Regions from separate parts of the Homo sapiens genome. Here all the other regions are linked to region 3. The links are contacts of gene promoters, found by promoter capture Hi-C in blood cells and fetal thymus (Javierre and others, 2016). All regions are on one chromosome and are shown on one strand. Each heading gives the region's core, a stretch centred on a gene start or on the middle of the fragment in contact. The rest is flanking DNA. Distances are from core to core; before and after follow the strand shown. Region 1 has its middle 3.6 kb from the start of GNS. Region 2 overlaps XPOT (exportin for tRNA). Region 3 holds the start of CAND1 (cullin associated and neddylation dissociated 1). Region 4 overlaps XPOT (exportin for tRNA). Region 5 has its middle 59 kb from the start of GNS. Region 6 overlaps TBK1 (TANK binding kinase 1). Region 7 has its middle 3.2 kb from the start of C12orf56.

Evidence for each region. The method cuts DNA at HindIII sites, captures the fragments that hold promoters and counts their contacts. A CHiCAGO score of 5 or more calls a contact.
Region 1: a fragment that was not itself captured here is called in contact with the fragment with the promoter of CAND1 in region 3 in 1 of 17 cell types (neutrophils); the score reaches 7.6 in neutrophils.
Region 2: a contact is called between a fragment that was not itself captured here and the fragment with the promoter of CAND1 in region 3, in 1 of 17 cell types (neutrophils). The highest score is 5.2, in neutrophils.
Region 4: a fragment that was not itself captured here is called in contact with the fragment with the promoter of CAND1 in region 3 in 1 of 17 cell types (neutrophils); the score reaches 7.9 in neutrophils.
Region 5: a fragment that was not itself captured here is called in contact with the fragment with the promoter of CAND1 in region 3 in 1 of 17 cell types (neutrophils); the score reaches 6.3 in neutrophils.
Region 6: a contact is called between a fragment that was not itself captured here and the fragment with the promoter of CAND1 in region 3, in 1 of 17 cell types (neutrophils). The highest score is 9.1, in neutrophils.
Region 7: a contact is called between a fragment that was not itself captured here and the fragment with the promoter of CAND1 in region 3, in 1 of 17 cell types (neutrophils). The highest score is 8.5, in neutrophils.

What each region holds. Positions count from the first base shown.
Region 1 is chr12:64,761,043-64,764,906 of GRCh38, forward strand. It overlaps a transcript of TBC1D30 not described here. Among named protein-coding and RNA genes, the nearest start is that of GNS, 3.6 kb to the left of the region's middle. The HindIII fragment of the contact is 4,032 bases long and covers 1-3,864 here.
Region 2 is chr12:64,407,572-64,411,711 of GRCh38, forward strand. XPOT (exportin for tRNA) reads left to right here. Exons shown (of 25, transcript NM_007235.6): 2 at 2,391-2,524. The coding sequence starts at 2,465. Among named protein-coding and RNA genes, the nearest start is that of XPOT, 5.2 kb to the left of the region's middle. The HindIII fragment of the contact is 450 bases long and covers 1,844-2,293 here.
Region 3 is chr12:67,266,965-67,270,918 of GRCh38, forward strand. CAND1 (cullin associated and neddylation dissociated 1) reads left to right here and starts at 2,394. Exons shown (of 15, transcript NM_018448.5): 1 at 2,394-2,821. The coding sequence starts at 2,754. RefSeq lists enhancers at 1,530-1,829, 1,970-2,229, 2,509-3,160. The HindIII fragment of the contact is 8,089 bases long and covers 1-3,623 here.
Region 4 is chr12:64,439,045-64,442,635 of GRCh38, forward strand. XPOT (exportin for tRNA) reads left to right here. Exons shown (of 25, transcript NM_007235.6): 23 at 200-271. It also overlaps the pseudogene LOC100420899. Among named protein-coding and RNA genes, the nearest start is that of TBK1, 11 kb to the right of the region's middle. The HindIII fragment of the contact is 635 bases long and covers 1,985-2,619 here.
Region 5 is chr12:64,698,710-64,702,528 of GRCh38, forward strand. No RefSeq gene overlaps it. Among named protein-coding and RNA genes, the nearest start is that of GNS, 59 kb to the right of the region's middle. The HindIII fragment of the contact is 6,460 bases long and covers 1-3,819 here.
Region 6 is chr12:64,461,871-64,466,025 of GRCh38, forward strand. It overlaps TBK1 (TANK binding kinase 1), which reads left to right. Exons shown (of 21, transcript NM_013254.4): 4 at 2,464-2,593. Among named protein-coding and RNA genes, the nearest start is that of TBK1, 12 kb to the left of the region's middle. The HindIII fragment of the contact is 5,197 bases long and covers 51-4,155 here.
Region 7 is chr12:64,391,979-64,395,898 of GRCh38, forward strand. No RefSeq gene overlaps it. Among named protein-coding and RNA genes, the nearest start is that of C12orf56, 3.2 kb to the left of the region's middle. The HindIII fragment of the contact is 713 bases long and covers 953-1,665 here.

The DNA of each region.
Region 1 (3,864 bases), core at 742-3,241, 2.5 Mb before region 3:
TTCTGCAAGAAACAATTATGCCGGAAGTGTGGTCAGAGCAGTTCCTAGACAACCAGAATACTTGGTTACAGCCTTGGCCTAGGCCAATTTTTCAAGCTGGTTAGAATAACTAATCCTTCTGTATTCAGGTTTCAAGACTTCCAGGAAGACTTTCTTGCACAAAAAAATAACCTATTTCATCTGTATCGAAGCCCCAAATTGTAAAATTGTTTCTTTTCTATTTTTTTCAAGGTTAGATTATAAACTATTTGAGGCCAGAAATTGTGTAATTAGTTGCCCACTTTGTTCAGGATGCTGCTGTCAGAGGCGATTGAACCAGAGCAACTCCATCTTGAAAAGGGGCTGAGTAAAATAAGCCTGAGGCCTGCTATGCTGCATTCCCAGATGGTTATGCATTCTAAGTCACAGGATGAGATAGGAGGTCATAAAGATACAAGATACAAGATGCATGTCATAAAGACCTTACTGATGAAACAGGTAGCAGTAAAGAAGCCGACTAAAACCCACCAAAACCAAGATGGTGATGAAAGTGACCTCTGGTCGTCCTCACTGCTAAATTCCCACCCAGCGCCATGACAGTTTACAAACGCCATGGGAATGTCAGGAAGGTACCCTCTCTGGTCTAAAAAGGGGAGGCATGAATAATCCATCCCTTGTTTAGCATATCATCAAGAAATAACCATAAAAATGGGCAACGAGTAGCCCTCGGGCTGCTCTGCCTATGGAGTAGCCATTCTTTTATTCCTCTACTTTCTTAATAAACTTTCTTTCACTTTACTCTATGGTCTTGTCCTGAATTCTTCCTTGCTCGAGATCCAAGAACCCTTTCTTGATGTCTGGATCAGGACCCCTTTCCGGTAACACTGCTACACTAGTGCTGAAGAGACATTGTCCCTCGTTCATGGAATTTGCAGTCTAATGGCAGAGAGATGGACAATCTAATCTTGTATCTTGTATATGATTACAAATAGACATGCTATGAAGGAAAAGTAAAGGGTGCAATGAGCATTTAAGGTGGTGGGAGGCTGATTTAGTCTAAGGTGCCCTGAGGAAGTGATCTTTGAGTGAAATCTGAAGTTTGAGTAGGAGATAATTTGTTAATGGAGTATTGGGGTGGTGGAATGTCTCCTAAGCACAGAGTACAGCATATGCAAAGGTTCTGAGCTGGTGCATTGCAATAACTAAAAGAAGCCAGTGTGGTTAGAGCAGAGGGAGAGAGGTGGTGAGGACCCAGATCCTATTTTAAGGACTTGGGTTTTTATAGTAAGGCTAATTGGAAATTACTGAAAGAATGTAAGATAAATATAATCATACATGAACTTTTAGAAGATCCTTTAGACTGTGGCATGAAGAACAGATTGGAAGAGGACAAGCATGGGTGAGGGTAGACCAATTAGGTAGAGAGAAAAGTGGATAACAGGGACAGATTCAAATTTTGTGGGGCCTGAAGTTTATGTGCATTTGGCGAGTGGAGGCTCCTTAAGAAAAAGAATAACAATTTTAGATACAAAAGTAGGTACACAACTGAATATGTATTTAGACTAAAACAAAATATAACGTTATAAATTTTTAAAAGTTGAAAAATATTACAAATAATGCAAAAATTTAACGTAACATATTTTTATTAAGTAACTGCCAGGCATACTTCTTCATACTTTTTTCCCCTTACATTATATGGCTATGTGCTCTTTAATCATCTCTTCATATGATGTTAGTTTATAATATTTTCTAAAGAAAATAGAAAGATAATTTAGTTTTTTCTCTAGTGTGTTTGATCAGTATTTGCCTTTTATTGGTGATAATTCAGAAAAATTATTTTTCACCTCAGTTCATTATTGGTTTTATATATATGTTTAGTATTTTTGTCAAATTTCAGAAAACTCTATCAAATATCCTCTTAACATAGGCATTTCGTGACATTCTGCATTTTATTTTGTATTATTTTATTTTTTGAGATGGAGTCTTGATCTGTCTGCGCTCTTGGCTCACTGCAACCTCCACGTCCCAGGTTCAAGCAATTCTCCTGCCTCAGCCTCCTGAGTAGCTGGGATTACAGGCATGCGTCACTATGCCCGGCTAATTTTTGTATTTTTAGTAGAGATGGGGTTTCGCCATGTTGGCCAGGCTGGTCTCGAACTCCTGACTTCAGGTGATCTACCCGCCTCAGCCTCCCAAAGTGCTGGGATTATAGGCGTGAGTTTTATGTTATCTTCCTCAATGCTAGTGTGAGATCAAATCGAAAGAAATTTGAATATTTTTCAATGAGTTTATATAATTCACAAGTTGTCAATTTAATAGCCTATTTATTACTTTCATTTGCAGTTTATCTCTTCCTCTTTCCAGCTTTATTGAGATATAATTGACAACAAAATTATGTGTATTTAAGGTGTACAACATGATGTTTTCATATACGTATAGAGTGTGAAATGATTATTCTCTTCCTCTTAATGAATTACTGTTTTTCTTATGATTTAAACTTTTTTTGGTTACTCTTTACTTCTTAATGTCAGGATAATTTCTCTTTACTTTCTCATTCATCTTTATCACTTTGGTTTTGTATCCTATTAATTTTTTTTTTTTTTTTTGAGACAGAGTCTTGCTCTGTCACCAGGCTAGAGTGCAGTGGCATGATCTCGGCTCACTACAACCTCCACCTCTCAGGTTCAAGCGATTCTCCTGCCTCAGCCTCCCAAGTAGCTGGGATTACAGGTGTACACCACCACATCCAGCTAATTTTTGTATTTTTAGTAGAGACAGTGTTTCACCATATTGGTCTGGTCTCGAACTCCTGACCTCAGGCTGGTCTTGAACTCCTGACCTCAGGTGATCCACCCACCTTGGCCTCCCAAGGTGCTGGGATTACAGGCGTGAGCCACCATGCCCAGCCTAGCCAAGCTGTTTTTTAAAGAGCATGCAGCCCTTTTTCCTAATCATTATAATAGCTGTGTTAACAGATGACTGATTATAAATGCTGTTTAACCACAGGTTAAAATAACAATCTTGTTTTACTTTGTTGAATAATGTCTCAGATGTTTTCAGTTGGCTAAAAATATTTAAAAATTGCTCATAGGTTTTCCTGTTAGAAAGTAGTGCCCAATAATTGCCAACTCATCAGTGGTTGTCATATCCAGAATAGAATACATAATAGTATTTGGTGTTTGGTTATGTGTTTGACTTACCACTTTTTAAACATTTTTTTCATTATTTCAATTTTTTCCATAAATTGTTTTAGTAAAATAAGTTGTGTTTTCATTTTGACATGTTTTTCCAAGAGCTTAAGCAAAAATGCATCCAATTCAGCTATTAGTTGAAAAATTCCTGTGGAATTTTCATTATAGGAACAATAGTACTTTTCATCATGACCTCTGAAGTGTAACTTTCACTTAACGTTTAATAACCTCAAAACTTCCATCTCTGGCCACGATGGAGTAACAGTGCCAGACTAATTCTCTTGCTAAAAACAACTAGAAAACAGGGCAATATAGATGCCTTTATACAAGTGACAATAGTGAAGGACTGTGATCCACATGTAAAGAGAAACAAACAATTGCTCCAACTTTTTGCCTGGTGGAGGGACATTCTGAACCAGAGAGCAGGAAATAGGATCTCATGCTTGACAAAGTTGACTTGCTAACTTTGGGTGGACAGAGATCAAAGTTGAGGGAGATTGAGGCAGCTGGAAGTTTGCAGGGAAGAATTCCAAAGAGAAGGGTGCTGTATAGATTTAAAAGCTCCATAAGTTTGTACAGATGTCTTTCTGAAACTTTGCTGAACACTGAGATGTGCATTCACAGGGTGAAACACCACCAGAAGGCAAGGCAAAGAATGACCAAGGTAATGTAAAACAAATAATTCTCAGAGGGG
Region 2 (4,140 bases), core at 819-3,318, 2.9 Mb before region 3:
TTGGGAGAGTTGGACAATAGAGGTCAAAGAAGTGTTCTTGAAAGAGATGGCTTCTAAGTTGAATTTCAAAGGACAGCAGGGGTTAACCTACTAACAAGAAGAAAGAGCAGTGTGCAAAGATGAAAGGTAGAATACCACTGGAGAACTGCCATATGGTTCACTAGCACTGGCCTTGCTGACCTGGTGTGCAGAATAGTGAGGAGTTATTCAAAAGTGTTTGGATCGTAATCTGAGGGCAGTAGGGAGTTACACTGCCTTGAAGTCTGCAAGTACGTTATGAACCATAAGAGAAAGGGCTGAGCTGTCTTCAAAGCTCTCAGTCCATATCCTGAGTTATTTGATTCAGGCAGGCTCAGAGGAAAACAGAAAAGCCTATTGTAGGTATCCTGTAACCTGGACCTGAGCCTGGTTTTGCTATTCCCAAAAGGCCTTTCTCCCCTACCCCTGCTATTCCCAAAAGGCTTTTCTCCCCTACCCCCAATCCAATTAGTTTTTTGGCGTCTTTGGTTAACGGTAATTGAAACAAAAAGCCCCACAGCCTTTTTTTGTTTTTTTTGAGACAGAGTCTCGTTCTGTCACCCAGGCTGGAGTGCAGTGGCGTGATCCCAGCTCACTGCAACCTCCACCTCCTGGGTTCAAGCGATTCTCCTGCCTCAGCCTCCCAAGTAGCTGGGATTACAGGTGTGTGCCACCATGCTCCACTAATTTTTTTGTATTTTTAGTAGGGGATTTTACCATGTTGGCCAGGCTGGTCTTGAACTCCTGACCTCAAGTGATCCACCTGCCTCGGCCTCCCAAAGTGCTGGGATTACAGGCATGAGCCAGCACGCCTGGCCCCCCACAGCGTTTAATGGAAGTAGTAAGACTTGGTCTCCCTACCTTATAGGTCTTGAGAGAATAATATCATTTTTCACATCATTTAGAGTTTGTTCCATGTTTGCTCAAATGAATATGCATTCTATCAAAAACTAGGATGCCTTTTGCAGCTTATTATTTGAGAATGTTGGAACCTATATTGTGAAGAAGTGGATTACCTCTCAGAGATTAAAAAAAATCCTTAAATAAGAGTAGTCAGTGTTAAGTCATTTGTGGATTTTTTTTTGTGTGTTTTGTTTTTTTTGAGATGGAATCTCACTCTGTTCTCCAGGCTGGAGTGCAGTGGCGCAATCTTGGCTCACTACAACCTCTGCCTCCTGGGTTCAAGCGATTCTTGTGCCTCAGTCACCCGAGTAGCTGGGATTACTGGCATGTGCCACCAAGCCTGGCTGATTTTTGTCTTTTTAGTAGAAACAGGGTTTCACCGTATTGGTCAGGCTGGCTTGAACTCCTGACCTTAAGTGATCTGCGCACCTCAGCCTCCCAAAGTTCTCAGATTACCGGTGTGAGCCACTGTAGCTGGCTGGTTTGTGGGTTTTTGTATCTACTATTGAAAAACTTTTTTTTTTTTGAAATTTTTAGAATTGGCTGGCAAGAGCAGAGATCTGTAAAATGCAAAACTAAGTCCATTGCTCAAAAGCTAAATGACTGGTTTTTCATTATCCTGTTCCTTTCATTAGACTTCTGTCATAGTACTTAGTAAACACTCCAAAGGATATTGAACTCTGAGGTCAGCCATTCTAATGTTTTAAAGAAGGTTTGTGATATTTGTATCTGGAAGTAGACAAATTATTATAATTACTGTAATAGTCTGCATTTGTCATTTTTATACTTAACTGCAGTTGCACAATTGCATTTTTAAGTACTAGAGATAAGTAAAACACTGCATAAATTAGGTACTTCTACTATTTAAAGTAGAAAATGATTACTTTCTATACCTTATTAAGAAGATCTTGAAGACTAAGAAAGCTTGAGGACCTTTATGGCATACTTTAAGATTTTTAGGGGCCAGGTGGGGTGGCTCATGCCTGTAATCCCAGCACTTTGGGAGGCCAAGGCGGGCGGATCACGAGGTCAGGAGATCAAGACCATCCTGGCTAACACGGTGAAACCCTGACTCTACTAAAAATACAAAAAATTAGCCCAGCGCGGTGGCGGGCGCCTGTAGTCCCAGCTACTCGGGAGGGTGAGGCAGGAGAATGGCGTGAACCTGGGACACGGAGCTTGCAGTGAGCTGATACGGTGCCACTGCACTCCAGCCTGGGCAACAGAGTGAGACTCCGTCTCAAAAAAAAAAATCAGATTTTTAGGAATTACACATTAGTGGAGTAGTTAGCAGAGCCCATTTTTCTGAGAATTAGGCTCTAACTTTTAGTTGTAATTTAGATAAGTTCCAAAATAAGTTTTTAAACATTTAAGCTTCTTTGCATGATTTTATCCATTTACGTTATTCAGGATAAGCATCTATTTGTTTATCAAGTAATGTTTTCTTTCAACTTTGTTTTTTGTGGCAGATGTTTATAAATTCTTCTGTGGGATCAGAGGGCACGCCTATTACAACCAGAAAACTACAAGTATAACAGCGAGGATGGATGAACAGGCTCTATTAGGGCTAAATCCAAATGCTGATTCAGACTTTAGACAAAGGGTAAGTTACTCTGCTGAATCATTTTTTAATCATGTCACCACAGATTGGCATTAGAGGACTTGAATAAAAATGCACCTGGCAAAAGTTTACTTTGGGTAGAAATGAACAGAAACAAAAAAATTTGAGGTATTTGAATATATTTTGAATATAGAAACAGTGAGTGTTGTGATTTATTTTCTGTTTACTTGGCCAAACAAAAGTATTAAAATCTCATATGATTCAAGGCAGATCTTTATGCAACATCAGTCATTATTTCTAATTATTTAAAAATTGTAATGCAAAGGATTCGTTTAAGAGACTTTCCATAGCAGCAGACATGTGTATTTTATTTTCTCTTTCCTTGGCTTGATCTATACAAGCTGTTTTAACACTTACCTTAATGATTTTTTTTTTATTTTAATTTTTTTCTAGAGATAGGGTTTCACCATCTTGCCCAGGCTGGTCTCGAACTCCTGAGCTCAAGCGATCTGCCCACCTCAGTCTCCTAAAATGCTAGGATTATAGGCATGAGTCACCCTGCCCGGCCACATTAGTGATATTTAACTTTCTTGTTATTTGGTCTAGGCAGACATAAATAAGCAGTTATGATAGGTTATGTCTTAAGTAAAATGGTTACATGACAAGAATCCATTATAAAGTGCTGGGATAGTTGGATAAATGTAAACAATTAAATATAATGTAGCCTACAACTATAATCATGACTATAGCTGAATGATAGAAAAATATAAAGAATGAGCCTATAATTAATTTTTTTTAAAGACGTGGGCATTTGGAACTATAGGGTAAGTGGAAAGGAAAGAGGCATTTTCTTTTTACTTTTCATAGCAAAGAATACTTTTTATAAATGAGCTAAATGAGGTTAACAATCTCACTAAAAATTATAGCAGTTTTTATTCTTATTTTAAGAAAAAAATCTTTTAAAGCAGTAAAAAACAATCCCAACTAGTTTCTAATACAGTACCATGTGCATGTCTCTGCTACTAAATAAGTAACGAGCCCTTCAGATACAGGAAAATAATAGGAATTGAGATTTAAGTATCTGGCTAATTACAAGATACCTATCAAACAAGTTAGGACATCAAAAGACATTTAAAATCCATGTCTTCTGTGTGTAAACAAATCTTTCTTGTCATAGGGTTTTATGCTACCTACCTTCAAACATAGTTGAAGTATCATAGATCTTTACCTTTAGTCTAGCTTGGTATTGCATGCTTGTAATTAAAAGCCTTTGACTGTATGTTTAGTTATTAAATGGCCTTTACTGTTATTTTTATGTGCCTCTTGAAATCTTTCATTTCTTAAGTTCCAGCATCCAATTTTTGGATGAAAGAGGCATTTTCTTTGCCTCTTAAGTTCCAGCATCCAATTTTTTTAAATGTGCCATGATTTCTTTTTCAGAAAATTAAAACCAATACATTATTAGTGGTTTTAATACAGAAGCTCTGCTTTTTGTCAGTAAAAATGGGTTCTGTCACATACGTGTTTTAAGCATCCAGGTCCAGGCATAATTCAGTATCCATTTAGCCAATCTGAATAACAATTTATTAGGATGAAAGGGAAGAAATCTTAAAGTGAATTCTGAAAGCCCTTTTGTTGCAGTTCGGGAGTAGTGGAAA
Region 3 (3,954 bases), core at 1,144-3,643:
TTTTCTCCTTATCATCTGCCCAGCTAATTTTTGTATTTTTAGTAGAGAAAGGGTTTCACCATATTTGGCTGGGCCGGGCGTGGTGGCTCATGCCTGTAGTCCCAGCACTTTGGGAGGCTGAGGCCAGTGGATCACCTGAGGTTAGGAGTTATTTAACTCTTAAAACAACCTGAGGTAATATCCTGATCATCATTTACCCACGAAGAAACTGAAGTTGAGAAAGATGAAAATGAATTGCCTATGACACCAAGTAAGTGGCTGTAAACATGATTTATATTTAAGGAATCTGACTCCAAATATTATAGTTCAGCTGGAAATTCAAAAGTGAAAGAATTTACACACAGAAAAAGACAAACCATGATTTGCTTTCTGAGTGGACACAGGCTAAAAGAAAGTATTATTGATAATACCAAATGACTGAGGCCTTGAGGTCCACACATACAAAAAAAGACCTGCTTCTTTGTGTGTGTGTGTGTGTGTGTGTGTTTTACATTAAATATGGTGGAAAGGCTATTCAGAGCAAAAGGCAATTAATTGTGGCTGAAGCACTAAGGACAGTTTGATGAAAGATATATTAATCATGGCAGATTGGTAAAATGAAATATGGCATTACTGGGGAGAAAAAATATCATATATTACGTATATATTATTATTATCATTTTAAGACGTTGTCTCACTCTGTCGCCCAGGCTGGAGTGCAGTGGCACGATCTCGGCTCACTGCAACCTCCGCCTCCTGGGTTCAAGCAATTTTTCTACGTCAGCCTCCCGAGTAGCTGTGACTACAGGCGCGCCACCATGCCCAGCTAATTTTTGTATTTTTAGTAGAGATGGGGTTTCACCATATTGGCCAGGCTGGTCTCGAACTCCTGATGCCCTGATCTGCCCGCCTCGGCCTCCCAAAGTGGTGGGGTTACAGGCATGAGCCACCGCACCCGGCCTTTATATTACATACATTCAAGTAGAAGGATACATGAGAGCAGATCAGAGGTATGTGTGAAATTTAAACACATATTATGAGGCTAAACCAAGTTTCATCTGTTTTATTAACTCCTATTGCCTGACTTTGAAGTACTCAGTAATAGTTGATGAATACAGAAAACAATGGTAAAGGTCAGGTAGATTTGATCGGATTTGAGTTATGTGTTAGTAGAGAGCTATTTAAAGGTTTGTTGTTGTTTTTAACAGGAGTATCAAGTGAGATTGATTTTTCATCTCTTCACCAGGCTCTCTGTTCTTTTAGAAAGGCCTGTCAGCTAGCTCCATCCCTAACACTTTCAGGGATGTTGACCCCTAGCTGGCAAAACTTGTGTTTAAAATCCCAAATATTAAGCAGATGAAAAACTTGGATACTAAATACTTTCATAACTCATCTCCACGAATTTGTACGTCTGAGGGAGCAATACACAGCTGCAGGTCCATCAAGGCCACAAAAGCTAACTACAGAGATAGTCTTTTAGCTATTTTGAAATCAGTAGGGCCTGACTACAGCCATCTGTCGCATACCCATTACTCTTACTAAGGTCCTGCTGGCGTCAGAGAGGTGGTTCTACGATGCACGGTAGGAGTGTGTCTGGCCAGAGAAGTGGGGAGGCTCAGCTGCCTTGGGAGGTGCAAGTAGTAGCGCTAGGAAGCTGCTGCTAGGCCTCTGGCAAGAACACCAACTGATCCGCAATGCGCCTGGCCAAACTGCAGCAGCCTGCTCTGCAAATACTGCATAACAGAAAAAGCCTGTATTGGAGAATATAAGAATCCGCGGCAGAAACGGAGTGCGCGACGATTCTAAGGTTTTTACCCAGCACGGCTCCCCCATCAGACTGCAAATCCCAGCATTCACTCCTTCCACGGGAGCCAATGAGGAAGCTACTAGTTCCCGCAGCCAATCACATTCTGAGCCAGTGTATCACCCGACTGAATTCTGGGATTTGTGGTTTTTACGTGGCAACATTACACCACGGTGGCTACGGCAATGCAGGCCACGCGTCTGATCCCAAACGACACCTCCCTGTTATAAATTCTTATGTTGGTTCCGCAAGCTAACTCCTTAACTGTCGTTACTCCCAGGCTTCCTCCTTCTCAAAGCTCGTAATCTTTTTCTCTTAATGTCATTAAACAATCAAGTTATTTTCAGATTAAGGCCCACTTGCTCCACTCGTCCCCTGTCCCTTAACCGTCGCTTTAGAGTCTCGCGAGAACAGCCCCTTTTTTTTGTGTTGTCATGCCTCCAAAAGGCGGGTCACATGAAAACTGACACAGGCTTCAGCCAACCGAATTGTTTTTTAACTCTCTTCTCCACAGCGTGCGTGGGGAGGCCTCCGTGAACTCTGACCTTAGCTTTCCGTAGCGCCCGCGTCTGCCGCCCCCGCCCCCGGAGCGAAGGAGGCGGGCTTTGGCCTTTTGCCCTAGGGAGCGAGTGCGGAGCGAGTGGGAGCGAGACGGCCCTGAGTGGAAGTGTCTGGCTCCCCGTAGAGGCCCTTCTGTACGCCCCGCCGCCCATGAGCTCGTTCTCACGCGAACAGCGCCGTCGTTAGGCTGGCTCTGTAGCCTCGGCTTACCCCGGGACAGGCCCACGCCTCGCCAGGGAGGGGGCAGCCCGTCGAGGCGCCTCCCTAGTCAGCGTCGGCGTCGCGCTGCGACCCTGGAAGCGGGAGCCGCCGCGAGCGAGAGGAGGAGCTCCAGTGGCGGCGGCGGCGGCGGCAGCGGCAGCGGGCAGCAGCTCCAGCAGCGCCAGCAGGCGGGATCGAGGCCGTCAACATGGCGAGCGCCTCGTACCACATTTCCAATTTGCTGGAAAAAATGACATCCAGCGACAAGGACTTTAGGTGAGGCCGAGATCCGACCCTCACCCCACCTCGGGGTTCTCGCAGCCGCGGCCCTGGCCGTCACGCAGGCCTTGCCCCACCCCTTCGGCCGTAGCCGGTAGCTTCTCTGCCCCGAAGTCTCCAGCCCACCGGTCCGCTGGCCTCCCGATCCCTGCGGAGCCCCTTTCCTCTCCCCTCTTGCAACCCCCTCCCCCCATTCTTTCTCCTAGGCAGTTGCCCGCCGCGGTCTCTAGGCCCCGTTTGCTTGTCTCAGCGCCCCCACATCCTTCCCTGCCCCACCAGGAGGCGATTCTTGCGTCTCAGGTAGCGCGAAGGGGCTAAACCACCCACCATTGTGGAGAAGGGAGTTGCTCTAGGCCGGGAGACCGGGCGCCGGGCCTATTCGCTTGCCATCCTGCGGCGCTAGGCCGCCTTGCTCGCTGGGGCCCAAGCTGCTGCCCACTCGGGGACCCGGCAGCCTCCTCTCTGCCCGCAGGTGCGCGTGGGCCTTGCTGCATTCAGGTGGAATGATGAACTTTTGCGCTCTTGGCTGATACATAGTTCTTTTGTGGATTATTAATTTTCGTGAAGGTGGGAAGAAGGGGGAGGGGAGCCAGGATGGAGGAAACTTCGCTCATAGGGTTTTCCCGCCAGCATCACTGTCAGTTCCTCTTGTCAGGTAAAACCAACTTAGGAACTCGGGGTTTCAGTCTCATGTCCTCATATCCAAAATCACTGCCAAAGGGGTGGATTGCTGGATCTTAATCATAGCAGACGGATCTTCAAAAGGAAGAGATGTTTAATACGGACCTGGTGAATATGAAGCTTTATTACAGCAGTTCTGTTCAGGAGATCGGTACTGTTGGTTCCAAAGTGTTGTAATATGCATAGTGAAGATTTGTTATATTTTTACAGGTTATCTTTGTTTTTATTTTTCCTTGCACGCTTCGGTGATTGTTGCATTCTTTCCCGCCTCCCATCTCTTCACAAATAAGTTCTCAATCTAAAAAAAAAAAAAAAAAGAAAAAAAAATCGCTTATTTCCTTATACCTGTTTTGTTCTCTAATGCTTAGTGGTTGTAATTTGGGTGCATTTTAAAGGAAATAACAAATAGTCTTCAACTAAAATTGTGACTAAAGAGCTTGTTTGTTTTG
Region 4 (3,591 bases), core at 1,052-3,551, 2.8 Mb before region 3:
ACATGTAACCCAGAACTTAAAGTATAATTTTAAAGAAGGTGCCAGAGCCAGGCTTCAAACCAAGGCAGTCTGGCTCTCGGGTCTGTGTTCTTAAGCACAATACTATATTGCCTTTAAAGTGTACATGTATTGTTCCGATTCTTTTTAAGCTTATTAATGTCAAGCAAGAAAATAGTTGTAAGTATCTTTTAATCTTCAGGGCCCAGAATGTGTTCAGTATCTTCAACAAGAATACCTGCCCTCCTTGCAAGTAGCTCCAGAAATAATTCAGGTAAGAGCTATTTCTTACCATTGTGTAGGCGAGAGATCACAGTAGTAGCAGCATTGCCTGTGACATTGTCGCTAGCAGAAATCAAAAATATTTTCATATTACATAAGTTGTTGCCAGCATCTCAAAATACTGTTTATGCTTATCACCATTTTGAAATTATGAGTTACTAAGTAATATCACTACACCTTGTTACCCAACAAGTTAATAAGTCCTTACTGTTCTAGCATACTTTAGTTTGATAACCATTATTCAGTATAATTGGCTTCTATCGTAATCCCATGTATTATGTTTTATGCATTTTTTTAAAAAAACATTCTAAAGGAGCCTAATAGGCTTTTCCAGACTGCTGAAGGGGACCACAGCAGAGTTCTGAAGCTTTGTACCAGGTAGTTCATTGTGTGTACACCAAGCTTATCAATGCTTAATCTGTAAATCTGAAACTATTTTAAGGAAAGTGTCTGGAAAGTTACCTTATACTTTTAAGAAGTCATTTGTATAATATTGTTTCTTGGCATATAATTTTCCAGATTTCTTGTCCAGTAGTACATGGAGTTAATGAAGTATCAAACTTGATTAAAACTAGAATTACAATCTCTTATGTAGATTCCAAAATTTGTTTCTTCATCAATAGTGTTTTTATTTTATTGTAAGAACACTTACATGAGATATATACCATCTTAACAATTTTTACGTGCACAACACAGTATTATTAATTATAGGGACAGTGATGTGCCTATAAAATATAGGTGGATCTCCAGAACATATTCATCTTGCATAACTAAGACTTTATACCCACTGATTAGCAATTCCCATTTCCCACAGCCCCCATCTCCTAGAAACTACCATTCTACTCTCTGATTCTGTGAATTTGACTACTTTAGATACCTAATATAAGTGGAATCATGCAGTTATCTCTCTTTTTGTGACTGGCTGTTTCACACAATGTCCTTTAGGTTCATCCATGTTGTTACATATGGCAGGATTTCGCAATTTTTTAAGGCTGAATAACATGCCACTGTATGTATATATCACATTTTCTTTATGCATTAATCCACTGATAGATTCATTGGGGCTATTTTCACATTGTAAGTGCTACAGTTAACATGGGAATGCTAATATGTCTTTGAGATGCTGATTCCAATTCTTTTAGATAAATACCCAGAAGTGGGATTGCTGGATTATATGGTAGTCCTATTTTTAATTTTTTGAAGAAACATCTTACTATTTTCTATAGTGGCTATACACCATTTTGCATTTCCATCAGTTGTGTAGCAGGGTTCCAGTTTTTCCACAATGTCACCAACACTTGCTGTCTTTCATTTTTTTGTAATAGCCATTCTAACAGGTGTGAGGTGATATCTCATTGTGGTTTTGATTTGCATTTCCCTTATGATTAGTGATGTTTGTTTTTTCATACACCTGTTAACCATTTGTATTTGGAGAAGTCTATTCAAGTCTTTACCCCATTTTCTAATCAAGTTATTAAGTTTTTTGCTATTGAATTAGAGGAGTTTTTTTATATGTTAGAAATTAACCCCTTATCAGATAAATGGTTTGCAAATATTTTCTCCCATTCTTTAGCTATTCCAGAGGTTGCCTTTCTGCTCTGTTGATTGCTTACTTTATGGTGCAGAAGCTTCTTAATTCAATGTAGCCCCACTAATGTAGCTTTTCGTGATATCAATGAAATCATTTCAAAGACCAGCATCTTGAAGCTTTTCTCCTATGTTTTCTTCTAGTTTTGCAGTTTGGAGACTTACATATAAAGTCTTTAATACATTGAGTTGATTTTTGTGTAAGATAAGGGTCTCGTTTTCTTTTGCACGTAGATATCCAGTTTTACCAGCACCATTATTGGAGAGATTATTGTTCCCCATTGTGTATTCTTAGTACCCTTGTTGAAGATCAGTTGACTGTATACAGGAGTTGATTTTCAAATTCTATTTTGTTCCATTGGTTTATATGTCTGTCTTAAAAGAGAGAGGGTCTCACTCTGTTGTCCAGACTCAAGTGCAGTGGCACCATCATAGTTCACAGCAACTACAAACGCCTGGACTCAAAGAATCCTTCTGCCTCTGCCTCCCAAGTAGCTAGGATATATGTCTGTCTTTTGCTAGTACCATACTGTTTTCACACTGTAATATTAAAATATATTTTGAAATCTGGAAGTGTGGTACATCCAGCTTTGCTCTTTCTCTGGATTGTTTTGGCTATTCAGGGCCTTTTGTGATTCCATGTAAATTCTAGTTTTGTTTTTTCTATTTCTATAAAATATGCTCTTGGAACTCTTATACGGATTGCCTTGAATCTGTACGTCACTTTGTTTTTTATTTTTGGAATGATTAAGAAGCTTTTTAAAATTTTTTAAATTTATTTTTATTTTTTTTGAGATGGAGTCTCGCTTTAGTGCCCAGGCTGGAGTGCAGAGGCACGATCTTGGCTCATTGCATGCAACCTCCGCCTCCCAGGTTCAAGTGATTCTGGTGGCTCAGCTTCCTGAGTAGCTGGGATTACAGGCAGGCACCACCATGCCTAGCTAATTTTTGTTTTTGCTTTTTTTTTTAGTAGAGACCAGGCTGGTCTCAAACTCCTAACCTCAGTGATCTTCCCACCTTGGCCTCCTAAAGTCCCAGGATTACGGGCGTGAGCCACCTTGCCTGGCCATTAAGAAGCATTTTGTTGACCTGATGGAACAGGGATATTCATTTAGCAGCTCAGTTTTATATACTCTTTCCCCTGTGTCATTTTACATAATGTGTAAAGTGGGGGGGGGACCCTTTTATTGCAAAGACATTTCCAGAGTCGTCATCTTTTTCTTTCTTTTTGAGACAGTCTTGCTCTGTCACCCAGGCTGGAGTGCAATGGCACAATCTCTGCTCACTGTAACCTCCACCTCCCGGGTTCAAGCAATTCTCCGGGTTCAAGCAGTTCTCCGGCCTCAGCCTCCCAAGTAGTTAGGATTACAGGTGCCCACCACCATGCCTAATTTTTGTATTTTTAGTAGAGACGGGGTCACCACATTGGCCAGGCTGGTCTTGAACTCCTGACCTCAAGTTATCCACTGGCCTCGGCCTCCCAAAGTGCTGGGATTACAGGCGTGAGCCACCACACCTGTCCAGAACCAGGGGCTTTTCTGTGACCAAGGTAACCCCATATCAATTACCCTAGCCCATAGTGTCCTTGGACCTTACTGCTAGGCACTGGCTTTCAGTGTTGCTTTGTACTTCCCTGTCGTCTCCTAATGCCATTAGGCCTGGATAGGGCACCTGCCCTTTAACTTCACAGGTAGATTCCCATCAGAACTACTTTGAAGGCCAAAA
Region 5 (3,819 bases), core at 612-3,111, 2.6 Mb before region 3:
GGTAGGACTTTTTTTTTTAAGTCAATTTTTATTACTAAAAAAAAACCTTTTTTTTTGAGATAGAGTTTCACTCTGTCTCCCAGGCTGGAGTGCAGTGGCACGATCTGGGCTCACTGCAACCTCTACCTCCTAGGTTCAAGCAATTGTCCTGCCTCAGCCTCTGGAGTAGATGGGATTACAGGCGTGTGCCACCACACCTGGCTAATTTTTGTATTTTTAGTAAAGACGGGGTTTCACCCTGTTGGCCAAGGTGGTCTCAAACTCCTGACCTCAGGTAATCTGCCGGCCTTGGCCTCCCAGAGTGCTGGGATTACAGGTGTGAGCCACCGTGCCTGGCTCACATGAATATTTATTGAAACAACAGTTATCAGTTGGTGACAAATTCGGAGACACTGTCAGATAACGCTAATTAGGTATTTTGTTTTATTGAAAGAAGGGGGCTGGGCGCGGTGGCTCATGCCTGTAATCCCAGCATTTTGGGAGGCCGAGGTGGGCAGATCATGAGGTCAGGAGTTTGAGACCAGCCTGACCAAACATGGTGAAACCCCGTTTCTACTAAAAATACAAAAATTAGCTGGGCGTGGTGGCGCACACCTGTAATCCCAGCTACTCAGGAGGCTGAGGCAGGAGAATTGCTTGAGCCAGGGAGGCGGAGGTTGCAGTGAGCCGAGATCGCCCCATTGCACTTAGCCTGGGCGACAAAGTGAAACTCCGTCTCAAAAAAAAAAAAAAAGAAAAGGGGCCAGGCACAGTGGCTCATGCCTGTAATCCCAGCACTCTGGGAGGCCAAGGCGGGCTGATCTCTTGAGGCCAGGAGTTCAAGACCAGGTTGGCCAACATGGCAAAACCTCTTCTCTGCTAAAAATATAAAAATTAGCCAGGCGTGGTGGCACACGACTGCTGTCTCAGCTACTCAAGAGGCTGAGGCAGGAGAATTGCTTGAACCCGGGAGGCGGGGTTCAAGCCCCGTGATTGCGCCACTGTACTCCAGTGAGCCGTGAGTACTGCAGTGAGCCATGATTGCGCCACTGTACTCCAGCCTGGGCAACAGAGCAAGACTCTATCTCAAAAAAAAAAAAAAAAAAAAAAAGGGTGGTGGTGAAGGTCTACACTATAGTAGCCAATGCCAACAAAGTGCTTACCATGTGCTAGGCATTCTTCTGAAATGCTTAATATGTATCAACTCATTGACTCTCCTGTGACGTTATCACACTATTTCGTCATATCCCTTTTTTCACAAATGTGGAAATGGACATGTTGAGGTTTAGCAGCTTGCTCAAGGCCACTGTGTGAGTGAGTGGCAGAGCCGGACACTGCCCCGTTTCTCTACCATCTTTTCCTGTAAGTGCTCTCTAGTTTCTCAGTTAAATTGCCTATTGAGTAAAGGAGCAAAAGTCTGTTAAATTGCCGTAATGGACAGTTTGCCCAGAAGCGTAACTGTTTTGGTGCCATTGGGGTTTGTTGATATCAGTGTGTTCTCATCCATTTTGGTTCATTTATCATTTCATTCAGGTGATTATACTAAGTCACATAGAATGAAATGCTGACCTGTGCTTTCTTTTTATTTTTTCGGATGGGGTTTCACCTTGTCATCCAGGCTGGAATGTAGTGGCGTGATTACGGCTCACTGCAGCCTTAACCTCCTGGGCTTAAGAGATCCTCCCATCTCAGCCTCTCAAGTAGCTGGGACAACAGGTGCCTGCCACCACATCCAGCTAATTTTTTTTCATTTTTGTAAAGATGGAGTCAGGCTATATTACCCACGCTGGTCTCAAACTCCTGGGCTTAAGTGATCCTCCTGCTTTGGCCTCCTAAAGGGCTGGGATTACAACCACCATGCCCAGCCCAGACCTGTATTTTCATTTAGAGGTTCTGTTGCATGGGGGAAATAACACGGCAGGTAACCAAACTTAGTGGTCTCACTGTAGTTGGTAAGACAATTCTCCTGGAACCACCAGAAGAACAGCTTCAGTACTACAGAGTGCTATAGGAGCCACAAAACTTGTGCAAAGGTTTGACTCATGGAACCATTCCCCCAAACAAGGCTCATCCTCTGCAGAGAGAAACTAGGAGGTAAGTATTCAAAGTCTAAAGCATATGCTTGTGTGGTGTGAATCACTACTTGCTTAATTGAATGTTCAAGAAAGAAGTTTTATATAAGGATAAAGGTGGGGGGGCAGGTGTGGTGAAGGCTGGAATAGGAGGGAGTGGGGACTAGCTGGGTTATATACCAACAACTCTGAAGCTAAATCATTTATTCCATCTTCAGGCTTGGATCTGGGTTTGGGTTTTTGTTTTTTGTCTTTTGGGGTTTTTTTGCCTGTTGGTTTTGGTTTCATTTTGTTTTGTTTTTTGACAAGTCTTTCCCTATTCCAGGAGATGAGAATAGCAGGGTACAGGATAGACCCCTTTGATCTTAAATAGTGTTTCCAAAGGATGATTGTGGTTCTCACGTGTCTGGCTGAGGCTGCATTTGGCATCAAGTGAACTCTGAAAGCTCCTCTCTTCTTCTTGTTTCTGAGAAATGTGAGCACCTTTAAGTATTATTTACGCACAAACAACAAAACATCAGGGCTCTTTGTAAACCTCAAAAGAAATTGGGATTTGACTTTGTTTTGGGGAGGGAGTTATTTCAATCAGGAGAGTTCATTTTTTTCTCTTTCTAAACGAGGAGTTCCGATTACAATGGGCCTGGGTCATTAAGGGCATCTATCTGGTTTGTGTTTGCTGGCATATGTACTGCCGGCTGTTGAGCCACGCTTTGTGGACACGTGGGATTCATTAAGCCCTCTGTGGTTCCTGTCTCTGAAGTGGCTTTCTAGGGAGGCTCTGCTCTACAGGGTTTTTCCATTTACAGGTGCAATAAAATTTGTTTAAATTCTAAAAATTCTGAAGCAGCAAACTTTAGTGCCTTGCCAAAACTTAGAATTCTTGAATTACTGCTGTTGCAGGCAGGGAGGCAACAGCTTAAATTCAAACCTTTTACTCAGAACTATAAATGGTGTCTTCAGATTCTTTTAAAGATGGTGAACATTTCAAACATTTTTCTTGCATATGTGATCTTTGCAAGGAAAACATTCATAGTCAATTTTGTTTAGGTCAGATTGAGTATTTCGAGGCCTTATTAATAAAAGATGCTTGACTGAGCAGGTAAGGCCAACCATAGAAACTGAGGAACAAAAAGACCAGCTTTCAGAAAACTTCCAGTTCTTTTTTTTTTTTTTTCTGAGACAGAGTCTCACTCTTGCGCCCAGGCTGGAGTGCAGTGGCTCGGTCTTGGCTCACTGCAGCCTGCGCCTCCCAAGTTCAAGCGATTCTCCTGACTCAACCTCCCAAGTAGCTGGGATTACAGGCACCCACCACCACGCCCAGCTAATTTTTGTATTTTTAGTAGAGACAGGGTTTCACCATGTTGGCCAGGCTGGTCTTGAACTGCTAACTTCAGGTGATCCACCCGCCTCGGCCTCCCAAAGTGCTGCGATTACAGAGGTGAGCCACTGTGCCCAGCCATCAGAAAACTTCCAGTTCTATCGCCTTTATCTAGATACAGTTTGTATAGGAGTTTGTGTGTGCTGGGGAAGGAAGTGGGCTTTAAGGGTGTAGTGGTGTTGGGGAGGCCAGAAATAATGTCCCCTTTATCATGGAAAGTTATTTGTTATGAAGGTGGTAGTTAGGAAAAGGCAACGTTTAGGATCTTTCGGAAGATATTTCAAGACAAAATGAGGTTACCACACTATTTCTTCACAGACTGCCTTCGGAACTGTGGAAGGTGCTGAATTTTGTTTTTTCGAGGTAGGTCTTGCTCTGTTACACAGTAGC
Region 6 (4,155 bases), core at 1,399-3,898, 2.8 Mb before region 3:
GCCAGAGGAAGAGACACAAAGCGTGGAATGTGGGAGGGTTCCAATCTTGAAGCTTCTTTGTCCTGAGGGACACATTACTCTCTCAGCATTGATGTATGACAGTATGCATGAAGTATTGCCAGTCAGGGAAGCTCACCCAAGCCTTTGGTGTCCAGGGTTTTTACTGAGGCTGGATCATTTATTGCCTGTATTGCTGACCTTTAGTCCCCAGCTCCTTCCAGAAGTTTGGGGTAATTCCTTTAGTCTCCATTAAGCCCCCATCCTAAATCATGCTGTGAGACTCTCCAGTGGCCAAAGCCCCCAGAGGAACAAAGACAGAAGTCTTGTTCTTTCAGATAGGACATTTTAGGGGCCAGAGATCACTGTCCAGTAGCCAAGGGCAAAGCCTGACTTCTCTTTGGGTAAAGTTAATTTTTTACCACACAATAGTTAAGTGGTAATGAAAAGAGATATTTACCAAAATTTTAATCTTCTTGGAACACCTTATATATGATGTTATGTGAGAAGAATCAGGATTAAAAATATATATGTAGTATGATCTTAACATATACAGTGTAATATGCAAACAGCATTATGTATCTATGACATTATTTCATCCATAGAAAAAAGACTGAAAGAAAATACGCCAAAATATTAATTCATTATCTCCAGGTAATGGAATTATGTATACTTCCCAAATTTTCAACAATCAACATACATTATCATTTAAAAGCAACAGTTTTTTTTTTCTACTATGATTATTTCTCTCTCTTTTTTGAAATGACTGCCAGAGAGTAATTTAAAATATTTTATAAAAGTGTTTTGGAGATATGTAGAAAAAAATTAGAAAAGAAACAAAGGATAAAAAGTTGGAGATGAATAGTAGATTTTAAGACTCATTCAGATTTTCAGATTCTGAAATTGTCATGCATCTTATAATCATTGTGTATATATAATTTGATGGTATTTCTTTTTCCCCGTAATGCTGTTATTAAATTGATGAAGCATTATAATCAATGGTACATTAAAATTAAGGTTTAAAACAAATCAGCATCTCAGATGCAAATGAGCAGACTGGAGCTTTGCTGCAAGAGGGACCACTCAGCTGTTCTGCTACCCATTTATTTTTAAGGATAGGACTCCATTCCTTGAAGTAACAGTAGTCATCATAAGAAAAATTTCATTTTAAGAGGTTAGAAGAGCTGTTGTCCTAAATGTACTGTTATACATAAGAAATTCAGCACTGGTGTGGTGACTCACGCCTGTAATCCCAGCACTTTGGGAGGCCGAGGTGGGCGGATCACGAGGTCAGGAGATCGAGACCATCCTGGCTAACATGGTGAAACCCCGTCTCTACTAAAAATACAAAAAAATTAGCCGGGTGTGGTGGCACTCGTCTGTAGTCCCATCTATTCAGGAGGCTGAGGCAGGAGAATGGAGAGTGGCGTGAACCCTGGGAGGCAGAGCTTCCAGTGAGCCGAGATCGCGCCACTGCGCTCCAGCCTGGGTGACAAAGCGAGACTTTGTCTCAAAAAAAAAAAAAAGAAGGAAAGAAAGAAATTCAAGTGACTGGGTGTGGTAGCTCATGCTTGCAATCCCAGCACTTTGGGAGGTTGAGGCAGGCAGATTGCTTGAGCCCAGAAATTCGAGACTAGCCTGGGCAACATAGTGAGACCCCGTCTCTACAAAATAATAGAAAAATTAGCCAGGCATGGTGGAGCATGCCCGTAATCCCAGCTACTTGGGAGCTGAGGCAGGAGAATCACTTGAACCTTGGAGGTGGAGGTTGCAGTGAGCCAAGATCGTACCATTGCACTCCAGTCTGGGTGACAGAGCAAGACTCTGTCTCAAAAAAAAAAAAAAAGAAAGGAATTTAAGATGATTTTAACAAAACCATTGTAACATTGTACCAATGATTTTGTAGTTCAGATTTAGCTACTTTTTACTGTGGTTTGTCTTCAAAAACAAATCCAACTTCTTCACCTAATAGGAATTTGGAAAATGTTAGTTTTTTTTTTTTGTTTTTTTTTTTTGAGATGGAGTCTCGCTCTGTCACCAGGCTGGACTGCAGTAGTGCAATCTCGGCTCACTGCAACTTCCGCCTCCCAGGTTCAAGTGATTCTCCTGCCTCAGTCTCCTGAGTAGCTGGGACTAGAGGCATGTGCCACCACACTCAGCTAATTTTTGTATTTTTAGTAGAGACCGGGTTTCAGCATGTTGGCCAGGATAGTCTCAATCTCTTGACCTCGTGATCCGCCCACCTCAGCCTCCCAAAGTGCTGGGATTACAGGCGTGAGCCACCACACCCGGCCGGAAGATATTAATTCTTATATGTGTATGTTCAACAGATACTGAATCTCAGGTGAAGCAAAGTGCCTTCATCATTGTAGCAAATCCTACATTTAAATGAAATCAGATAAGTACTGGCATATAATCAAAATTTATTTTTTATGTTGATTCCCAATCAATGATTTTTTTTTTCAGACAACAACAAGACATAAAGTACTTATTATGGAATTTTGTCCATGTGGGAGTTTATACACTGTTTTAGAAGAACCTTCTAATGCCTATGGACTACCAGAATCTGAATTCTTAATTGTTTTGCGAGATGTGGGTATGTTTGTTTATTTATATGATATCATTTGTATATAAAATTTAATAACAGAATTTTTAAAAAATATCTTCCATTCAAAACTGAAGACCTTTATGCAATGCTTCATTAGATATGACACCAAAAGCACAAATACCAGAAATACATAAATTGGATTTCATCAGCATTAAACATTTTTGGGCCTCAGAGGACATCAGGTAAGTGAAAAGACAGCCCATAGAATGAGAAAAAAATGTTTGTAAATCATACACCTGACAAGGGATTTTTATCCAGACAACTCAACAATAAAAAGCCAAATAACCCAATTTAAAAATGGGCAAAGGATTCGCATAGACATTTCTCCAAAGAAGATACACAAGTGGCTAACAAGTACATAAAAAAAAGCTCAACATTAATTAATTAATAACCGACATCATTGGTTATTAGGGAAATGCTCATCAAAACCACAATGAAATACCACTTTATACCAATGAAAATGACTAATATCAAAAAGACAAACAGGGCCAACCATGGTGGCTCACGCCTGTAATCCCAGCACTTTAGGAAGTGGAGGCCGGCAGATTGCTTGAGTCCAGGAGTTCAAGATCAGCCTGAGCAACACAGTGAGCCCCTGTCTCTACAAAAAATAAAATAAAAAATAGCCAAGCATGGTGGCATGCACTTGTAGACAGCTACTCAGGAGGCTGTGGTGGGAGGATCACTTGAGCCCAGGAGATTGAGGCTGCTGTGAGCCTTGATTGTGCCACTGCACTTCAGCCTGGGCAACAAAGCAAGACTATCTCAAAAAAAAAAAAAAAAAAAAAACAAGTGTTGGCAAGAATATGGAGAATTGGAACCCTGATACATTGCTGGTAGGATTATAAAATGATACAGCCATTCTAGAAAACAGTCTAGAGTTCCTCAAAAAGTTAAATATAGAATTATTTAACTTTTGACCAAATGACCCAGCAGTTCCACTGCTACGTATATACCCCAAAGAATTAACATATCCATATAAAAACTTGTACTCCAGTGTACTTAGCAGCATTATTCATAATAGCAAAAAAAAAAAAAGATGAAAACAGCCCAAATGTCCATCAACTGATGAACAGATAAACAAAAATGTGGTGTGTCTATACAATGGAATATTGTTTGTTTACAAAAAGATATGAAGTAGTTATATATGCTACAACATGGATGAACTTGAAAACATTATGCTAAGTGAAAGAAGCCAGACACAAAGGCTGCAATATTATATGATTCCATTTATATGAAATGTCAAGAATAGGCAAATCCATAGAGACAGAAAACAGATTAGTGGTTTCTGGGGGATCAGGAGAAGATGGAGTTGGGTATGAGTTGTCTTTTTGGTGTGACAAAAGTATTCTGAAATCAGTGGTGATGGTTGTATAACTCTGTGACCATACTAAAAATGACTGAATTGTACACTTTAAAAAGATGAATGTTATGTTTGAATTATATCTCAGTGAACCTATTTTTTAAAAAAAATACTGCAATCAAAGGAAATAACATCTTAAGAGAAATGAATCAAATATTTGAGGAATGGGAAAAAGTCAAGTGATAAG
Region 7 (3,920 bases), core at 59-2,558, 2.9 Mb before region 3:
AGGTATAAATATATTACAATCCATAAACAGATATTGTAGACTACACTAGTACAAAGGGAAAGAGAAATGTTTTGGTCTGGCTAAACTTTTTTTTTTTTTTTTTTTTTGAGACAGAGTCTCCCTCTGTCACCCAGGCTGGAGTGCAGTGGCATGATATCGGCTCACTGCAGCCTCTGCCTCCTGGGTTCAAGCCATTCTCCTGCCACAGCCTCCCAAGTAGCTTGGACTACAGGTGTACACCACCATGCCTGGCTAATTTTTTTTCTGTGTGTATTTTTAGTAGAGACAGGATTTCACCATCTTGGCCATGGCTTGTCTCCTGACTTCAACTGATCTGCCTGCCTTGACCTCCCAAAGTGCTGGGAATACAGGCATGAACCACCGCCATGTAAGGGTCTGGCTAGACTTAAGTCTAAGATCATGTTAAGGAACTCAAGTGAGTAAAGAGAAGTGCCACCTGCTGGCAAAATCTTAAATGACCTAGTAGTTAAAGTTTTCTTAGGATCTCATCACACATCTGAGCCTTCCTAACTTCATAAATGGATGAAAAATGAATGAACTACACCATCCGTAGCAACCTTTATTGATAAAAGATGCCGCATGGCTATTTCCTCCAAAATAAAGACTACTCATTATCTAAACCACTCTAAATAGAGTTTGTTGCTTCAAACTAACAGAAAGGCAAAGGCGCTTCACCTCTGCTGAATAGCCACACCTCACAAAAGCAGTTGAAAGATGAATGACTACAATATCAGAGGTGGAAAGTGAGGCCCACATAAGGGAAAGGCCTTATCTTAGTCTACTATTTTGTGTCTCTCAGGCTTCCTACTTCATACCTACTTCCCAGGACTAAGAGAAACAGAATGACTGGACCAGGACCAAAAAAGACAGCATACTTGATATATCTGCCAAGAAGCCCATCTTGAATAAGCTTTTGGTGACAAGTGCACTAAGCTTAGCAAACATTAAAATGAAGCACAGGCTGGGTGTGGTGGCTCATGCCTGTAATCCCAGCACTTTGGGAGGCCGAGGCGGGTAGATCAGTTGAGGTCAGGAGTTTGAGACCAACCTGGCCAACATGGTGAAACCCCATCTCTACTAAAATTACAAAAAATTAGTTGGGTGTGGTAACACATGCCTGTAATCCTGGCTACTCGGGAGGCTGAGGCAGGAGAATTGCTTGAACCCGGGAGGTGGAGGTTGCAGTGAGCTGAGATTGCCCTACTCCACTCTGGCCTGGGCAACAGAGCAAGACTCTGTATCTAAAATTAAAAAATAAATAAATAAATAAAATGAAGCACAGAAAGAAGGGAATTTGACTGGGAGATTGGTGATCAAGGTGACTTCAGTTAAACTTTTAACTTCGTGGCACACAGAGAAGGCAATACAATGGTTTCCAGGCACTGTACAGCAGTGTTGCCAAGGTAACAGCAAAATTTCTATTGCAGGAAATGGATTTAAATATATAGGAAAGATCACTAGATTTGGAGTCAGGAGAACTAGATAAGGGCACTAACTCTGTTATCTATCAGACTTTTGGAAAGTCACAACCTTTCCGAGCCTCAGTTTCATCATCTATAAAATGTGAGGATCAAATGTGATGAATTATAGACTCTATGAGCACTACAGACATATGAAGCATTCACATTCCCTTATCTTTTGGTAAGCTTTACATCAATCCATGGCCCATAGGCCACCTGCAGCCCAGGAAGGCTTTAAATGTGGCCCAACACAAATTCATAAATGTCTTAAAACATTATGAGATTTTTTTGCGATTTTTTTTTTTTTTTTTAGCTCATCAGCTATCATTAGTGTTAGTATATTTTATATGTGGCCCAAGACAATTCTTCTTCTTCCAATGTGGCCCAGGGAAGTCAAAAGCCTGGATACCCCTGTTTTACATGGTTAACCCAAATGCACCAAAGATAGGTACCCCCTCCTTATCTTGTAAGTTCATCCAAACTCAAGAAACATTTGGCAAAGGAACTCCTGCAATCAAGCACTTAATAGATGTTTCTTGACAAAATTATCAAAAGGAATGGGACATTACTTACCTGGACTAATCCTCAAATGCAGTCTCCTTGAATTTCATCAGAACAGTGGTCTTAGGTACAGGGATGGTCAATTTAAATAATTCGAAGCACAGTAGTTATGAGCATAGAACTGTAGAGCCAGATGACCTGGGTTCAAATTCCAGCTCTCCTATTCAGTAGCTGAATGACCTATGCCTCAGTTTCCCCATCTATGAAATGGAGATAATAGTACCAACCCCCAAAGGGTTATTACGAGGATTTAAAAAGTTTCAATAGTACCTAGAACAGGAACCTGGACTGGAGTAAATACTATATAAGCGTCTAAAGAACAAGTTGACTGGGCATGGTGGCTCACACCTGTAATCCCGGCACTCTGGGAGGCCCAGGTGGGTGGATCACATGAGGTCAGGAGTCCGAGACCAGCCTGGACAGCATGGTGAAACCCCATCTCTACCAAAAAATACAAAAATTAGCCAGCGTGGTGGCGGGCACCTGTAGTCCCAGCTACCTGGGAGGCTGAGGCACAAGAATCACTTGAACCCGGGAGGCAGAGGTTGCAGTGAGCCAAGATGGCACCACTGCACTCCAGCCTGGGCAACAGAGTGAGACTCTGTCTTAAAAAATAAAGAAAGAAAGAAAGAATAAGTTCAACAAGTATGTGATTTCCTGTTACATATGTGGTCGTTCTGCTCCCTATCTACAAGGTAATATTAAATTCTTCTGATTGGATACAAGTCTAACTTTCTGAGATTGACCCAAGGCAAATTTTACCTTTTTTGGGTCACATTTTTAGTGGAGAAGAGACCAGCAGGTTAGGCCATGAGAACCATGTAAGGATTCCAAACTAGAAGTACTCTTCAATGCTTCTAGGGATCCCAAGTATTCCCATTCCCCCCACTTGAAACTAAAGACAGACAGTACACACAGTAAGATATTTAGAATATGTGGCCTATAAATAGAACCTGACCTTTTTTTTTTTTTCTTGAGAAGGAGTTTCACTCTATCACCCAGGCTGGAGTGCAGTGGCGCAATCTCGGCTCACTGCAACCTCCACCTCCCGGGTTCAAGCAATTCTCCTGCCTCAGCCTCCCAAGTAGCTGGGATTACAGGCATGCACCACCATGCCCGGCTAATTTTGTATTTTTAGTAGAGACGGGGTTTCTCCATGTTGAGGCTGGTCTCGAACTCCTGACCTCAGGTGATCCGCCTGCCTTAGCCTCCCAAAGTGCTGGGATTACAGGCATGAGCCGCCACACCCAGCCCTAAACCTGACTTTTTAAAGGTGTCTCATTTAGGAATCTCTTAGTGCTTCAACTTAGTTGTTTTTTTTGTTGTTGTTGTTGTTGCTTGTTTTTTGTTGTTGTTGTTTTTGTTTTGTTTTGTTTTGTTTGAGACAGAGTTTCGCTCTTGTTGCCCAGGCTGGAGTGCAATGGTGCGATCTTGGCTCACTGCAACCTCTGGCTCACCGCAACCTCTGCCTCCCAGGTTCAAGCAATTCTCCTACCTCAGCCGCACAAGTAGCTGGGATTACAAGCATGCACCACCACACCTAGCTAATTTTTGTATTTTTAGTAGAGACAAGGTTTCTCCATGTTGGTCAGGCTGGTCTTGAACTCCCCACCTCAGGTGATCCACCTGCCTTGGCCCCCAAAGTGCTAGGATTACAGGCGTGAGCCACCGCGCCCAGCCCTATACTTATTATTAATGGATACTGATCATTTAAATATCTACTATTAGTAATCTACTATTAGTAATTAGATGACATACAAAGGAAAGATGTCATTGTTATAAAAACCAGACAAATGATTTGGATTAATGTTTTCTTTCACTGAATAATACTCCAATGCTCTATTTTGCCTCTCAGGCTTCCTGCTGCACATGTACTTC